Linked DNA regions of Homo sapiens: region 1 is linked to region 2. Evidence: promoter capture Hi-C in human tissues and cell types (Jung and others, 2019). All regions are on one chromosome and are shown on one strand. Each heading gives the region's core, a stretch centred on a gene start or on the middle of the fragment in contact. The rest is flanking DNA. Distances are from core to core; before and after follow the strand shown.

Region 1 (5,233 bases), core at 320-2,819, 200 kb after region 2:
ATGATGCTCCATAGAAGGAGGTCCCATGCGAAAGGGTAAGTTACTGGCAGAACCGAAGCTTCCGCTTCTAGGCAAGAATAAAGATTGTTTCCTGCTCCTTTTCTTTCAAAGAAATGAAAACAGGGAGGAGCCTCAGTTCTGCATTCTTACTGCAACAGAATGTGAGATTTAAGAAAGGGAGAAAAGATTAAGAAAGGAAGAGAAAGACATGGGGGAAATGGAAGAGACAACTCAGAAAACTAGAGGAAGATATGAGAGACAGAGAAAGAGAGAGAGAGAGAGAGAGAGAAAGAGACAGAGAAAGGAAGAGAAAAGAGAGACAAACAGGTCAGATAACTCACTTGGCATTCCCTGCCCCTGCCTTCTTTCTTCGGAAGATGTTGAGGAAAGTGTTGGAGCGGCAGGGCAGCTTGCCATCGCCAACATGCATGCGGACAACATCAGAGGTGGTGAAGGCACTGCGGACATTCCTCTCAGGCTTGGCAATAATGATGTACATCTTGGGAGTGAACATGCACCCCAGAGCCACTGTTACACTGAGACTCACTGCAAAGCAAGTTGTGATGATCTTGTAGTTGCTCCCAAAGTAAATGGGCACAAAAGCTAGCCAGATGATACAGGTGGTGTACATGGTGAACGCGATATATTTGGCCTCGTTGAAGTTGGCGGGCACGTTGCGGGTCTTGAAGGCATAGTAGGTACAGCTCATGATGAGGAGTCCATTGTAGCCCAAAGGGGCCACCACACCCAGGTTGCTGGTATTGCAGATAAGGTAGACTTCCTTGATACTTGGGTAGGACAGAATGGGCATAGGGGGTTCCATGATGATCAGGGTTACCACCAGGGTTAGTTGCACACTAATCAGAATTGAGGCAATGATCACCTGAGCCCAGGCACTCATGAACCTGGGCTTCCGGGTGCAGATCTTCTTCTTGCTGCCAGCCAGGATGCGTGCAATACGATTGGTTTTAGTCACTAAAGCAGAGTAGCACATCGCAGAGGAGAGGCCAACCAAGAGGCGCTGGAGGTAGCAGGAGGTGGTAGTAGGTTTGGCAATGAGAGTGAATGGGCACACATAACCAAGGAAGATGCCAGCTAGGATGATGTAGCAGAGCTCCCGACTGGAGGATTTGACCACTGGTGTGTCCCGGTACAGTACAAAGATTAGGGTGACAAACAAGGTAACAAGGATTCCCAGGCATGAAAAGGCGATGGCTATAATGGATTCGATGTTGCTCCACTCAAGATAGCGCACAGGAATGGGCTCACAGCCTGTGATGAGAAAAATCATTTGAGCATGAATCCAAGGTTTCTGCTAGGAATAACAACTTGCCTATTAATTACCAGAGACACAGTCATCTTTGCATCCTTCATGATTTACAGCATTTAATGCTTTTTTAAAAATGCACACTATTACACAAATAAAGATACATCATTGTCTTACCTGGACAATTATGTCCCCAAACTTAATCTTATTACAAGCCTAATGTGACATACTTGAACCTATAAAAATGATCTTTTCTTCCAACATCAGCATTATAAATAGATGTCATTCTGTGAATGGGACTCGGTTCTACATGTTCAGAAAAAGAAAACACCCAAATAAAACTTTATTTCCAGTGAGGGTTAAATGGTGATAATGGGATAGAATAAATTATTAAGAAATAAACTAACAAAACTTTTCTTTTGATGCAGCCATTGTCTGTAGGCAAGTCCAGCTCATAGACAAGTCGTTTTTGGCCAGCAGAGTGTTTTCAATGTAAATTTCATGGACTTCTTTAGAAGAATCTGCATTCTCCTGTTTCCTGCATAACTCTATATTATACCTTAAATCTCACTCTTCTCATGAATCATGAATGATCTGTATCTGAAACCTGAGGGCCTTTGAGTTAGTAACCTCTAGTGGACATATCCAGGAAGAATGAAATCTCCCCTAACCCATCTCTTGAAAGGAAAGACTAGAATTTGTTCCTAAATTCCTGGCTTATCTTTTCCTTCTAGATGGAGAATAAAATGTATTTTGTATTTCAGAGTGAGAGAAAAATTTGTCAGGCTCTGGGACAACCCCTTCACAGAATTTTGTAATCACAAAATATTTGGTCTGGGCCAATATTTCCCAAATTGTGAGAATAAAGTCATTTCCATAAATTTAGGAAAAGACTCATTGTTCTGTAGCCATGGCAACAAGGAACCACCAGAACCAGTGCTAAACCTGTCAGTCAATCAACAACTTGCCTCAGTGAACATGTGTTTGGATGCCAAGCAAGCACTGTCAGCCCTTACTTCTGATAATCACTCAGGCAGGATCAGAATCACTTCAATAAATGAGTGCCAACTAATCAACAGTCTCATGTGAGTAATCGTATTGCTACAGGTGATGTCAACCAGCTCTCAGAAGCTGCAAGGTTTTCAATCCCTAAACTCCACACTTTCTAAAAACTCCATATAAAATGAATAGTCTTCTGCTCAGAGAAAATGTATCTGCCTAGCATAACTATCCCTTACTATAGTAAGCAATTTGTTTAGCTTTTGTGCTTTTTTTTTTTTTTTTTTTTTCTTTTTTTTTTGAGACGGGGTCTCACTCTGTTGCCCAGGCTGGAGTGCAGTGGCGCAATCTCAGCTCACTGCAAGCTCCGCCTCCTGGATTCACGCCATTCTCCTGCCTCAGTCTCCCGAGTAGCTGGGGCTACAGGCACCCGCCACCATGCCCGGCTAATTTTTTGTATTTTTACTAGAGACGGGGTTTCACTGTGTTAGCCAGGATGTTCTCGATCTCCTGATCAGCCTGCCTCGGCCTCCCAAAGTGCTGGGACTACAGGCATGAGCCACCACACCCAGCCAGCTTTTGTGCTTTTTAAAAAAAATTTTATGTATTTAGTCTCACCATGTTTCATATTTCTAGAGGCTTCACCAAGATAATTTTGAAGACTCCTTATTTGATAACATTCCAGGAGATGCTCTGATCAACAGGGTCACTCACTGGACCCCCTCGTGCCCGCATTCTGTCCTTCCCATGTACTAGCATGAGAGTCATTCTCAATAATTTTCTCACTCTGGCTAATTTTACTGAGCTCTTGTTGCTGAATTTATGTAGTTGTCCTAGGATTTGTAATCATGTAGGTCTTTATATAGAAGGCACTTAAACTTAGGTCTTTGTGTAAGGTTATTTCACCTGTATCTTTATATATTAAGTCATATAACCTTTGGTTTTGAAATGCACCATTTGGTAATTAGACATAAGCTTTTTATTATGTCAATAAATAGTTCACTTTAGAGATACACAATTTGATAAATATTTTTTTCCATATCTGTTTATTCCCTTGCTGTTTCTTTGCTTTTGCTGTTATTTACATACATACACAAAGTCTTATTTTATGGGTCTTTTTTGTTTGTGTGTTTGTTTCGTTTTGAACCATATTTTTCTGTTTTGTTTGTGTGTTTGTTTTGTTTTGAATCACCTTTTTCTGTTGACAATATAAGGGATAGTTCATAAACATTAGAGGAACATGTAAGCCTAAGAAGTGTCCAATCCAAGCTGGCCCTGAGTGCTAATGTTTGGAGCTCCTTTAAATTGATAACCAATTTGCCAAAAGTGGTAGGTCACTCAGCCTTAGGTTTCTTAGAAAACCTTTACAAGAATACTTCCCGTGTTGTCAACTTATGAAAGATCACTTTATTTTAGTGATTGTGTGTTGCCTTCCTACACTCCGTTTGCTTTGGGAATCTAAGACACCATTGGCAAGCACACACTTTTGACAGAACTTAGTGGCCTCTCTTCCTTGTGTATCAGAGATTTGTCTCTGTCTAAATACAAACCTTTTTCTGGAAGAACTTATTCTTCCTATATAAAGTCACATACTAATCCTAATTTTATTTTTGTTTTCCCAATGCAGGCAAGACAGATGATACATAGATGATAAATATATATATATAGACGATAGATAGATAGATAGATAGATAGATAGATAGATGATGGATAGGTAGGAAAATAGATATTTAAAATAACATTGGCCATATGGGAACTAATTTATGATGAAATCAATAAATTAAAATATTTACAAGGAGCTCTAGACAAATTAGGAGATAAAATACCACAGTGAATTGTCAGTTTCTTTAGCTGTCATCCTGCAAACAAATTTTCCAATTCAAAGATGATTTTTGTCAAGGCTTTGGTAACCTTCTGAATGCTACCTTCTTTTCATTTCATTCTTTTTCTATGCAACTTTACCTGACTCTCTAAATGAAATACTCTGTCATCAGAGATTTTACCAGAAAATAGTATAACATTTTAAACTTTCTAGAACACAAGTCAGATCTATAGAAGTTGAATTAAAGAAACTGGTATAAAGCCAAATTAAGACCTATAGTTAATAATTTTCCTAAACTTCATGAATACAGAACATAATGTTTGCTATAGAATTTGGAAATTTTATTAGATACTTATTGTCCATACTACAAGTATGTACCAATTAATTCAATTAATTATTAGCCTTTGATGGAGAAAAATGTTTAAATGCAAGAGCAGAAAAGAGAAGATTAAAGTAACCCAGTGGTGTAACATTTAAAAAAGAAAAATAGAAAAGGCATTGCATAAAGCACTTTCAGAAGCTTTTCTTTCAATAAATATTCAAAGTTGTAAACTAAATAAAGATGAAGAAAAAACTTTAGGAAACTTTCAAATAGTTCTGAAATAGACTCAACAACTAACTTAAAAAGGACCATATTCTCTCCCTCTGTAGGTAGGCTTAGACCTCCTGAATTAGTTGAATCAAATGAGGAAAAAACAGTTATAATTTAAAATTACCAATTTAGAAAATGTCTAATATGTGGCTTGACATTTCCAGATAGAGTTAAAAAGTAAATAACCCAAATCAACATAATTATGGATCTTTCAGTAAACCAACTAAAAGGTCTCTGCTCTCTATGGTTTGGGAGCCTATGGAAGAAAATCTGTAGATATCTCAAGCAGAAGTTTCATTTGAAGAATATTTGTGAACACTCAGTACATCTCATGAAAAATGAGGCAACTTATTCTGGAAGGACAAGTTGGCCAATTAAACAGCAATGGAAAGACATTTTCAGGATAGCAGAAGATGTGTCCAGCTCATGCTTCATTTGTAATTAAATTAATTTGGAAAAAAATGTATGGGACATTGATAAAATTGCAAAAGAAACCTTTGAGCATCTCCAGATGGATTGTATATGGTTGTGCCTCTCTATGATTTATTACTAG
Region 2 (5,533 bases), core at 208-2,707:
CCTGAGATGACTCAGGGAGTGGAGAGAAGGCTAGTGGAAGGTAACTTTAGAGAAGTAATACAGGCCTGATTCTGAAGGGCGTCCTCGGCCTTGGACCTAGAGGAATGGAAGCCATTAGACAACGCTGAAAAGACCTGACTTTGGTACACAGAAGTAAAGCAATCCTATTAAAATTACATATGTAATATTTATATAAAATTATATATGTAATATTACTTATATATGTAATATCTAAAATTTAAGCTAGTAAAAGGAATGGATTATCTGCCGGGTAACTGGAAACCTGCTTATGAGAGAGGTTAGAACTAAGGGACTAGAGATTCACAGACATGGGAATGAGTCTGGGAGAAGAATTCACAAAGAAAAAGAGTTTAAATCCTAGGGATCAGTGAATCATAGGGATCAGTCCAATGTGGAATTCTTCAGCCAGGGAAGGAAATGGAGAAACAGGCATCAAGGATGTAAGAATTCAATTTGAAATGATTGATTGCATCGCCCTCCCCATCAGGCAGAGCATGAAGAACATGAATGATCCCACTGAAGCAGGGCGGGCAGCTGGGATTCTCTCACAGTGGGAATGAACATTAGAAATGGTGTAAGTTCAAACAGCCCCAATCCTATGCTGTGGATAACTGGATATCCCTAGGGAAACAGACCACAGAAAATAATAATCATGGGGAAGTACATCCTAAGACACAACACCTAACACCAGCCCAGGACAAAGGCACCATAAAAATTCCATGAGCGAGGGTCTGTTTACTTTCTCAGAGTAAATGTTAGTAACATGAACTATACATTTATAATGTTTTAAGGTTTAGAAGCCACTTTACGTCTGACTATATCTGATTAAAGATCGTAGTCGTTGGACTGGGCAGATGCAAACTAGAAAATCACCATTAAGGTGAAATGTGTCCATGTCTGTCTGTCACTCGCTGTCTGTATCATTTCCGGGGCCATGAAGATGTGGCTTTAACCAGAAGTATTTGAGATATGCCTCTTTCTTAGGAAAGCTATGGCCTTTCTAACTGCCTGAGAGGGCTATGAAGAAGAGGAGGGGTGGCAGATTCACCCATGGGAGCTGAACACCCAAAGCAAGAAAATCAGGGGCTCTGGGAAAGGAAGTGAGTCAAGACAAGCAAGAGAGAAGGATGAGAGCGAGCACCTCCAGGATCTGGTTTACCAGAGAAGACAAGCTGCGAGGAGGCCACTAAACTTCTGCCCTGGCACAGTTTGCTGCAGGGAGGCAGCCCCAGAACTAGTGGTGAGGTCGAGGGGCTAGGCCAGGGGAGGGACGGACAGGCAGAGGTCCCTTACTCTTTCGATTTATCCGATCCGTGCGCCGAGTTGATACGATGCACCTCTTTCTTTTTGGTTTGTTTGGAGGCCATGGCAGAAGCCGATCTATGTAGGGCTGAGCTCTGAGCAAAGAGCCTGCGGGCGCGCTCGGCTCCGCGTCTGCGTTGCCAGGAGACGGCGTCCCGCGTCCAGCGCCCGGAGAGCGGGGGCGGGGCCCTGGGGGCGGGCTCTGCGGCCTGTGGCTGCAGAGGGACGCAAGAGCATAAACTGAAATCCCACATCCCCGTGGAGGAACTTGGAGTTGGTGTCTGGGGAGAAATCGAGGTTCTGGGGCACGGGTTTGGCATTAGGATTACTGGGCAGCCCTGATTAATTGGAGTTCTGCAGGACCTACACTGCCTGGCTTTGCCCTTCGGAACCATAGACATATATCGACTCTTGAATATCCAACTATTTGAACGTAGATGTTATCCTAGTACCACCCCAGTTATTCTCTTGGCTAAATATAACAAGTACCTTCAATAATTACTAAGGAGACATTACAGACACGCTGAAATTGTCAATGGCTTGAAAACCTGGGGTCCAGAAATTAACACAGTGGGTGTAAGGAAGGCAAAATAATGACACCTTGAGTCGCTGAGGGCTAGGTGATGATATCTGTAATAAAACCAATAAGGTGTCTTGTTGTTCGAATGAAAGAGTGAGTCCAAGTCATGGGCTCAGGTGGTCCTTTGCAGACTTTCCAGAAAAGGTCCAGGGGCCAGATGACACAGACAGAACCAAGTAAAATGAAACTTATTAGGGCGCAGGCTTAAGGCTCAGTCATCAGTGGTGATTTGTTAGTTATCTTGCCTTGGGCTAGTTTTTCCCTTTGAGTCTCAGTTTACTCACTTATAAATAGGAGATGCCTATTACTCACTTATAAATAGGAGTTATACCTAACTCACAGTTCTGTTTTGAGGATAAGATGCAAAGCGCAGCAAATAGGAGCCACTCTTTCAGAGATGACAGACCACCTGGTTTCGAGGAGCAGCAGACAGCGTGAATGAATGAAGTTGGCCAGGTAAATACAGAGTAGTGGATACTATGCTTAACTGAGACATGCTTAGACTGCAAGAGCTTGCAAATTTATCAAAACAAAACAAAATATTGTGTTGGTTCAATATAACCTCACTTCAGAGATATCTGACACACAGCCCTTAGGCCTAGGACCACTACTACTGGTTGGTGTCTTTCATGAGCCTAGAAATAGTTAAGTATCTTTAAATAAAAGAAATCCCCTCCACTCATGGGACTGGGCACATGCTCACAGTTCCACCTGTGCAGGCAAGAGGCAGCTTCCTGCAGAGAAAATCTTTCAACTTCTCTGACAAATGAATGCTCAGGGCTCTCCACTCAGCATAGCCTATGGTTTGTCAGACTATCCCAATCTTATTACTATTGGATTACTACTGGGGGTTACCTAGATGACAGACAGCCCCTTCGTTGTATTTCTATATGCAAAATAAATAAATTCCAAGTCAGCAGTGTTAATATTATGACTACAAGACTGCCCTGCAAACATCTCCTATATATGTAAAGACAATGAACACATCATGAAGATTCTGCTTTGTTTATACCATAATTCAAATTTCCAGAGAACTCTCTTGAATGAAAGTAGAGGACTAAATGGTGAGAAAAATTATTTACTACCAAATTTTGTCAGAGTAATCAAATTTATAGCTATAAGTATATACAAAGACTCTTGGCTGAAAACAGCACAACTTTAAGCAGCCAACCCCACAGAGAGGTGAGTTTCTTCTTGAACAAGGGCTATCCTGCAGCCATTGTTAATGGCTGCAAGATGCCAAAAGAATTAGGGAAGATAAGCCTTAGAAATCAAAAGATCTACATCCCACCGGTATTTTATGGACAAATAACTCCAGGCGAAGACAAGCAAAATGTCTTGCCAAAAGTTGCTGGGTTATTTATTGATGGAATTTGGACTAAACACATTAAAGTCAGCATTGCCAGTTTAAGCCAAACATATCACTACTCCACTCAGAGCTTGCTTTTTAAACATCTATTAAATTAGGATAAAGTAAGGGGGTTGTCACCAGAATGGAATAAGATAATCATAAAAGATGTGACGAGTATAAGTTGCCTATTAATTCCTACGCCAGTGTTCTTTCTCCTTTATTATATTAAGAGTGCAACATGCATAAATGGAATTTCTCTTCTTTCTGGAGCTAAGGTTCTGGTCAGGCTGTAATTATAAGAGCAAATCTGTTCCTCTCTAAGATAGTTCTAGCTACAAAGCTTAACATGATATTTATTGTGGCAGTGCAAAAAAGACAATAGGTCCTACTGCTGTTTTTATTTTTCTTATAACTGTTGTCAATGTCACTTTGGAATAATAATAATAATAGCTGTGATTTATTGAGTACCTACTACATGCAAGGTTTAGGGAAGGGTGCTAACTCCTTTAGAGATAAACTTGAATTTAAATCCTGACTCTTGTTGGGTAATTATGGGTGAGTTATTTAACTTCCATTTTCTTTATTTGTGGAAAGGGAAGAATAATACCTCAAATATGCTTGACTCATCCCAAGCATTCAGAGAATTATAGCTAATGTTATTATTCCACAGGTAAAGAACTGAAATGCAGACAGGAAATGGGACTTGCCTGACATGGAGCAGGTGGTAGGTGGCAGAGGAAGATTGGCCACTCCATAACCTGTGCTCTCTCCAATTCTCTGGACTAACTGTCCATACAGATGATTGCCCTGGGACTGAGCTTAGGGATTTCCAAACTCTTGCTATTTAACAACTGTCAAAGACTGAGAAACAGGGCTTATATTTTATTCAAGCTACCCAGAATAGGGCCTCTCTCTAATCTATACTTCCTTTTCGGGGAAGAGATATTTGGCTTCAGGCAGCAGTAGCGCCTGCTCCCTAGGGAAGTGGTTAGAGGTACCCACTTCCCCATATCAGCAGAAACAAAACAGGCAGGAGTCTCTCTGCTTGAGGATCTGCCTAAATAGGGAAGTGAGAATTGGCAACCACTTCTCCCTCCACCAATGGGAATCCTAGATGGAGGGAACTGGGTGGGAGATGGCAGGGGTGGGCAGAGTGGCAGCATTTCTGTTTCTTAAATCCATAACTCCATCTTCAGACACTTGATTCCACAGCCATAGGGAATTGTATATATTTTGCTGCTCAGCTACCTCTTTGCAATTAGGTCAATTATAAAATTACTTGGAATTTAACCAGCCAAATGAGAAAGTATGCATTCTACATGTTCTGTGTAAGGTTGAATTTAACTGTCACTTCAAGTTCTGTTCTTTTCACATTTCCATGGAAATTTACACCCTTCTCCTTTATTTCCCACAGAACTTTATTTGTTCATCTTTTAAAATTCCTATAATATTCTGTCTTGTTTTTATTAATACTTATGCCTTGTTTTTTCTCCTTTACTAGACTGTAGGGTCACTCAAAGCAAAAACTCCTCTTCTACCAAATTCATTCACACTTTTGAAGCTCCTAAACCCTTAATAATAAGAGCTTACATTTGTTGAGCACTTGCTATGTGCTTGACCCTCTTCTAAGCTATTTTTCTGTATTAATTCACTTAATCCTTACAAACACCCTAGGGATTTGCTATTATAATCTCTCTTTTATAAATAGGAACATAGGCAAAGAGTGGCTAAATTAAGTTAGTAAGTGATCAGGCATGATTCAAACTCATGGCTCTAGACCCATGCTCTTTATAACCACATTATTCTGCCTCTGACACCTTCAGTGATCACAACCCTATGAAGTATGAAACTCTGCCCATTTTATAGCGAAGAAAATGAGCTTTAGAAAGGCAAAGCAACTTGCCCAAAGTCCAAAGCACAGGGGGAATGGAGTCAAAATGCATAGGTGAACACTTTGGTTTCAGAGTGCAGGCTCCTAAACTCTCTGCTACATACACACTGCCTACTTCAGAGTTCAAAACATATTTACTTCAGATCATTGGAAATGGTATTAAAAATCACAACTGACATTCAGTTGTGTCCAGTAATATTCAGTCTCTACACCTGTTAAGGAGAAGTTGGATCCTGCAGATATGAAACCTGCTGGCCCTGCCACAGAAAGCCCCGTTATTCTGGGAAAAATTGAATTTATAGTTTTAATGACCTGTGAAAGGAAATTCTGAATAGAGGTTCTTTAAAAAATGGGGGATATGGAAATAAGTTATTAGTTGAAAAACAAT

The links. The method cuts DNA at HindIII sites, captures the fragments that hold promoters and counts their contacts. A contact is called where the count stands out against the background at its distance.
Region 1: a contact is called between a fragment that was not itself captured here and the fragment with the promoter of ADGB in region 2, in 4 of the 25 tissues and cell types used here (bladder, heart right ventricle, spleen and 1 more).

What each region holds. Positions count from the first base shown.
Region 1 is chr6:146,394,808-146,400,040 of GRCh38, reverse strand. GRM1 (glutamate metabotropic receptor 1) reads right to left here. Exons shown (of 8, transcript NM_001278064.2): 7 at 342-1,272. Among named protein-coding and RNA genes, the nearest start is that of RAB32, 150 kb to the left of the region's middle. The HindIII fragment of the contact is 4,712 bases long and covers 1-3,925 here.
Region 2 is chr6:146,594,896-146,600,428 of GRCh38, reverse strand. It overlaps ADGB (androglobin), which reads right to left and starts at 1,457. Exons shown (of 36, transcript NM_024694.4): 1 at 1,315-1,457. The coding sequence starts at 1,388. It overlaps ADGB-DT (ADGB divergent transcript), which reads left to right and starts at 1,498. Exons shown (of 3, transcript NR_125860.1): 1 at 1,498-1,596; 2 at 2,258-2,359; 3 at 3,925-5,533. RefSeq lists a silencer at 1,362-1,656. The HindIII fragment of the contact is 7,954 bases long and covers 1-5,533 here.